Regions from separate parts of the Homo sapiens genome. Here region 1 is linked to region 2. The links are contacts of gene promoters, found by promoter capture Hi-C in blood cells and fetal thymus (Javierre and others, 2016). All regions are on one chromosome and are shown on one strand. Each heading gives the region's core, a stretch centred on a gene start or on the middle of the fragment in contact. The rest is flanking DNA. Distances are from core to core; before and after follow the strand shown.

The links. The method cuts DNA at HindIII sites, captures the fragments that hold promoters and counts their contacts. A CHiCAGO score of 5 or more calls a contact.
Region 1: a fragment that was not itself captured here is called in contact with the fragment with the promoter of MYCT1 in region 2 in 1 of 17 cell types (endothelial precursors); the score reaches 7.3 in endothelial precursors.

The regions. Positions count from the first base shown.
Region 1 is chr6:152,482,444-152,485,843 of GRCh38, reverse strand. It overlaps SYNE1 (spectrin repeat containing nuclear envelope protein 1), which reads left to right. Exons shown (of 146, transcript NM_182961.4): 13 at 872-1,009; 14 at 2,595-2,759. Among named protein-coding and RNA genes, the nearest start is that of SYNE1-AS2, 82 kb to the right of the region's middle. The HindIII fragment of the contact is 2,269 bases long and covers 237-2,505 here.
Region 2 is chr6:152,695,564-152,699,331 of GRCh38, reverse strand. MYCT1 (MYC target 1) reads right to left here and starts at 1,435. Exons shown (of 2, transcript NM_025107.3): 1 at 1,234-1,435. The coding sequence starts at 1,429. The HindIII fragment of the contact is 10,649 bases long and covers 1-2,487 here.

The DNA.
Region 1 (3,400 bases), core at 122-2,621, 210 kb after region 2:
TTCACTATCTCCCCCCAGTGTTCTTCACGTGAATTTACATGTTTGTTTATAATTTTGAAATTCTTTTAGTTGTGTTATCTGCTAACTTTTGTGGGGCCATTCTCCTGTAACATAATTGCACATTTTAATTATCTTTTCATTTTATGTTTAGATTTGGAGTCATATTTTAGGATGGGTTAATTTAGTTAATGTAAAATATAAAACTTTAAAAATTGTTTTAATGTTAGCATTAAGCTTATAGTTAAGTCTACATATAATACATTGATGTCAACTGTACTGTGATATACTTAATATTTTAATACCATGAAATTAAAGCAAAGGATTATCATGTAAACATGGTCCCCTAAAGTAAACCTCTTTATGCAGGCTTACTTAAACACAAATCTAGACAGCTTTAATTCTGCATTATTTTGATATATGCAATTTCTATTTGTAAATTGTTTGGTACTTGAAGTAAAGCAACTATCTTGATTATTAGCTAAGATTTATACTCCTGTTTACTATGATTTCCTGACAAACATATACTGGTACACAAATTACTTTACTAGAAATGAGAAATCCTAGGCTTTAGTCCTACCTCTACTACTTGTCCTTGATAAGTCATTTCTGGGCTTCAGAATAATAATGCATGTGTAGGGTGATGGAGAGAACCAGAGAGGATAATATGAAGAAAGCACTTAGCACAGGGTCAAGCTATGTCAGGGCTTGATGAATGACAGCTGCTATTAGTATCATAACTACCGTTATTATTATCAACAACATATATTGAGTGTTATCCAAATAGAAAAGATTGTTATTTAGGAAATGTGCTTTCCTTTGCTTTTGCTTTTTTTGACTCATTGCCATACTGTTGCTGTTTTTCCTCTTTTAGTCATTTAAGCACTTCAGAGTTCAATATGAAATGAAGAGGAAACAGATTGAACATTTAATACAACCATTACACAGAGACGGTAAATTGTCACTTGACCAAGCATTGGTAAAACAATCTTGGGATAGAGTGACCTCCAGGGTAAGTTCTCCCACAATTAGTTATACTGAGCTTAATAAATTTAGAAAAGAATATTTTTCATCATCTATTTCTACACAGTGGTATGGCAACAGGTTCTACTGCCTCTGTCTGAGGCTAGAAAGACTTAACTATGGGAGAATCTTTGCCTCCTTGTCTAGTTTTCCTGTAAGTTAATGGAAGTCTTTGGTTTAACAGCTATTTTCTTGCCTTGGCTTCCCTCTATGTGATATCAGCAATTAACTAGATGATAGATTAAAGTCCTGAGACCATCTGGATCACTTCACACTTTACACAACTTCCTTCTGGGTGGTTTAGAAGAGGTGACTCTCTGGTCTTGTAGCAGATTCTCCAGAGTAGAGCCACAGCAACTTCTTGTATTCTAAAATCATGTTTCATCAACAGTTAATGACCTTCCTGTGTTGACATACAGTTTTGCATTCTTTAATTCAAGCATCTTTTTTTATCTGATCATGAATCTGAAGGAAAATTGCTCAGTATCTTTCATATTCATATTCTTCATGCTTAAAGGCCAAGATTTCAAACCCCTGGAACACTTCTATCACTAATAAGAATATTTGTCTTGAACTTACCATATATTCTTTACTTTATTTTATTTTGTTTTTGAGATAGTGTCTTGCTCTGTCACCCAGGCTAAAGTGCAGTGGCACAATCACAGCTCACTGCAGCTTCAACCTCCTTGGCTCAAGCAATCATCCTACCTCAGCCTCCCAAGTAGCTGGGACCACAGGCATGTACCACCATACTTGGCTAATTTTTTTTTTTTTTTTTTTTTTTTGTAGAGATGAGATCTCACTATATTGCCCAGGGTGGTTTTAAACTCCTGGGCTCAAGCATCTCATCCATCTTGGCTTCCCAAATTTCTGGGATTACTGGAGTGAGCCACTGCACCCAGCCTAATTTTTTTTTTGATAGTCTCATTTTTTCTAGTGACTCCATTAAAGAATAGGCTAGTTCCTAAGCACCTCAACTCATCCCACCTGGCTTTCCAGTAAGCTAGGAAATGTGTCTGAGAATTGGGTAAAATGGAAGAGATGGAGAGAAGGGTAGACAATCATAGGATTATAGAAAGAATCCTTTAAACCCATCTTTGTCCAGAGCTGCTTAGATAATCCTCATTTTTCTGAACTTGTTCTGATCACGTGGGAGGTTTTAATGGGATTCTCATTCCGACGACCAAGATACACATGTGCCAGGTGTATAACTGCTGCATCCTCCAAGCATGTCACCAAACCTGATCCCTTCCCTTTCAGCAAAAGCCACACTGAAAATCAGTGGGTGCTTCATGCTACTCCTGTAAGAGGAAAATTGCTTACACTTCTGATAATATTCTTCCATGTTTAAGATGTATTTTCAGTTTCTTCAAAATTTGCTTTTAACTGTAATTTTCTCCCCATCCCTAAAGTGTCAAACTCAGAACACAGACATTTGCTTATTTGATATTTATTAACTTAGCCTGAAATCATTAACTTAAAGCTTTATGTATGCTTTACTATTATTTGGGTGCAATTTTATAAATTGCCATCTGTATTAAAGATATTTTACTTTTCTGCTTTTTAAATTTTAGCTCTTTGACTGGCATATACAGCTTGATAAATCTCTTCCTGCACCTCTGGGCACCATAGGTGCCTGGCTGTACAGAGCGGAGGTGGCCCTGAGAGAGGAAATAACCGTTCAACAGGTCCACGAGGAAACAGCAAACACGATACAACGGAAACTTGAGCAACATAAGGTAAAAATTCTGGTTGGAAAACCTTGCAGCATAACAGCCCTACTGTGGTCTGGAGAGGTAGCCTAGTTACAACCTGCTCTGGCGGGGACGCCCCAAATATTAATTCTACATGATCGGAGACGTCACACCTTCTTAGAGTTCTCTAATTTGATTGTTTCTTTCTTACACTGGTTAATGACGGTTCCAGTGGGTTGACTTCCTGAGATATTTTCCATACCTGTGTGGTATTTTTTTCATCTGCAGCTATCTTTGTTATTTCTGTTGTTATATATTATTTTTCAAAAGATAAGCATAGATGGTATGCATTTACATAATAATGTGGCCGGCCATTGGCTCCAGACCTCATTTCTGCCTCCATTCTCAAAGGAAGGCAGGCAGAAGTTCTTATGTCTTGGTGCTGTGGGGTGGGGGTAGAAGGAATGGAGGCTGTAGGAAGTGGTGGGGTTAGGCTTTGATGGTCTCTTAGTCATTTGGGATGTTTTAAACTTAGTATATGATCAGTTGTATATGGTATAATTTCCAATATATTTCCTCTTTGTGTTTTGTGATATTACAGGCCTAACTAAAAATGCCGTTTTTCATTAACATCACATTAATGCAATCTTGCATTTTATGCAATTGAATTTGTATACTTCATTTGC
Region 2 (3,768 bases), core at 186-2,685:
ATGAGTTAATTCTTTTTTTTCTTATGCTGAATTTTAATATCTTTTAAAACCAATAAATATTTGTCCCCACATTTTTCATCTAAGAAAGTACATAGGTTAAAGGACTGGAGTGAATTCTTTTCATGCAAATTTCTGTGATGGTAGACATATAGATTGCTGGGAAAAGTCGGCCACTACTGCTCACTGTTTATGTGAAAGTTCCCAAAACCCCACCTTGAATCACAGCAGAAAGTCTGAATTGTACACTGAGAGGATTAAAAACTTGTTCTGGCCATATAAACAGATCTGTCCATATATACTATTTTCTTCATTAAAGTGTTTTTCTGAATTTAATTTAAATTGCCTCCTTTAATATAAAAATTTCCCTGAACCCAAGAGTACATGTCAACTCCCCATGTGAGCCCATCTTCTTTGTACCTCTAACCTGGAGCAACTGAGTTTTGACCTCAGCACAGTCCCATTGTCAACATCAGGGAACACTGGACTGTTAGCTGTGGCTGGACTCAGACAAAAAATTCTCCAAAAAATACTTTTGTATTGTTCTTTCCCCCCAACCCCTGTGATAGGATTCCATTGAATGTTACACGTGATGTTATTTCCACTTAATCTTTTCTACTATAGTTTTCTCAAATTTCATATTATTCCATGTTTTATTTGTTATACTCTAAAGTCATTCATTTATTTTACCTGTGTTATTGCACTTTAAATTCACTCATTTAAGTACAGATGTTATTAGGATTCACTTTGGAAATTAAAGCATATAACATTCACAACATAAGTGAAAATAGCCTCTATGGAAAATCTCAGTTTCATAAAATAAAATATATAATCTATAACCTTCAAACAAATGAAAGTTAATTTTTCCAACAAAATCTACATGCCATATTCTAAGCAGGAATTACCTCCACCTTATGTTTTTTATTTTTATCCTCACTATTTCCTAATTATATTTTGTAACACCAGCCAAAATCTGTACTTAATACCCAGATTCTTCTTGAATATCTTCATAGAACACTATAAAGACAAATAAATATATAAGTATATATTTATATCTATAAATATATTTCTGCTAATAAACGTATGAAATAGATTTCTGTTAATAAACATGAAAACTTTAAGTAATCACATTATAGTAAACAAAATGTCTCAGAGATTTTCACTGTTTTAATAATCACGCAGTGCATTTCTTACATCCTAATTTTAAATTTTAAACAGTAAAAGAAAATACCTTACCCCAAAAGTTTTCTGGCCATGGACTCCCTAAACTTGTTGTGTTATTAGCCATAATATCCACAAGAAATAGAAGAAAGAGAAGAAAAACAGAAAGAAAAACCAGTATGTCGAAAAAAAGCAGTTTGATTCTATCTCTTTGTAGTACAGCAAGAGAAAAATAATTTTTACACAACCCCTCATATACTTGTGTTCGCATAAAAGGAAATAAGTGTATCATGTTTCCTGCTTTTATACTCAAATTAGCAACTGTTTTTCTTATCTTGGAATTCCACATGGTTCCTGAGACACAAAACAATGTCCTTTTCATCATTTCCTCAGCTAAGTTCCTAAGTTCTCTCCTCTCAGCCACCTCCAAAACTGCTTTTAGGATAACAGGGTTGTGTGTGTGTGTGTGTGTTTGTGTGTGTGTGTGTGTGTGTTTCCTCATCCCCTACTGACATGGAAAGGAAGACTCCAAACTCTCAGCTACAGCACCTTGAATTAAATGTATACAGAATTGAGAAATAGACCACGTTCCAATGCTTGAAAATTAAATTTATATAGTAAATTGGGGGAAAGGACTATTCAAAACTCAGATACTTACTAAATTCTTTGTTGTTGTTGTTGTTGTTGTTTTTGAGACTTAGTCTCGCTCTGTCGCCCAGGCTGGAGTGCAGTGGTACGATCTCGGCTCACTGCAACCTGCCCCTCCCAGGTTCAAGCGATTCTCCTGCCTCAGCCTCCAGAGTAGCTGGGATTACAGGCGCGTGCCACCACACCCGGCTAATTTTTGTATTTTTACTAGAGATGGAGTTCCACCATGTTGGCCAGGCTGGTCATGAACTAGGCCTGACCTCAAGTGATCCACCTGCTTTGGCCTCCCAAAGTGCTGGGATTACAGCCATGCGCCACTGCGCTCGGCCACTATATTCTTAACATGTCTGTTTCTCTATTTGGTATACAAATTTTGAAAGTTATTTAATTCATTTCATAAATATCTAAGTGTAATTTATATAAAATTTGTGTTACTCTTTACTTAGTATTTAGTATGAAAAAACAGTTTCTACATTGAAGAAATATATTTAAAATCAAGGAGGGAAAACATAAATGCAAAATTTTTCATTACAAAGTTTGTTAAGTGCTATAACAAAGGGTACAACGATCTCAGGAATTTGTTTTTTATAGAGAAGTTTGAGAACTGATATAGGAAAGAGTTACATGAAACATTTTGAGAAACACAAGTTAGTTAACATTTCAAGAGTCTTTCCTCAAGCTTTGCTTGTTTAGACTGGATCCTCTGAGGACTTTGGAGGCACTGGAAATTGTGAATAACGTGTCAAACTGCACCTAGTAACTGCGCTAAACTGCATTCCATGATCTGGCTTCATCAATCTTTGAGTAACTCTAGCCTGAACTCTTGCATATATCTTGTATTAATCATATTCTAACTTATTAGTCATTAGAATATGACTTAGTGCAAAGTAGTATTCCTCTTTGTGAAGTCTGTAATATATTCCTGAGTAGTTCTAAGAAAACAACAAAAAAAGACAGTTATATTAATTTTTGCAGTCCTGCTTCTTCCAAAATGAGGTTGTTTCTGATCAGTCTCATTTTTTTGTGAATTTAAGTATAAATTTATTAGAAATTAAAATATAAATCATCTAAGAGAATTATAAAACGTCATAGAAAATTTAGAGAATTCACTGAGCAAATATAAAGACTCACCTCTATAATATTCTTGCTAAAGTTTATTTTCAAATAATCCAGTAAATAAAAGCTCCTACTATTACTTAACAGACAAAAAGGGCTTACATTTCAACAGTTGTCTTTACTTTTCAATATTGTTAACAAAGTTCATAAAAATAGAAAATTAAAAGAACATGTTATTTCTGAAGAAAATGTAATCTGGATGAAAGTATATTGAAATACTAATCACTTTACTGTTCTAAAAGCATCGAGTACGATTCTTAATTACTAAATGTATTTTTAAATACACATTTTGCATTATTAAAGGTTACCTGATTGCAATAAATCCTAATTTCAAAGGTGTATATAATTTCCTAAACACTGCATAGATTGCATTTTCCTTAAAATAAACCAAAATGAGTGGAATGGGTAACTGACATTGTCTCAACTGCCTTCTGTGCAGAAACAGAGCTCATTCCATTTCAGGGCTGGGATACAGGCTGACACTTCCTTTCATTGTTCTATGTTGAACTATGCAGATTTTCTCCCAATGGGTTTTCATTTTTGCAGATGGCCACAACCCAGTCAAAACTCTAAAGAAAATGTGTTTCTTAAATCAGTTTATGACCTAGGAATAGCTTGCTTGTGGACAGCACTGGCTCTTGTCTGTGTATGTAATTTGCTTGGTAAGGGTTCATACCTTTCCCTGGCATGGATCTATCTAAGTGAATGTTTATGTCTACGTGATTTTTGAGTCCCATGACTTGTCATGCCACAACAGGAACTTGATTTTTATCTTTACAAAACTGTTAGGTTTGCTTTTCTACTGCTCATTATTTCATAACCTGGGTCTTTAGGTCTGGGTTCTCC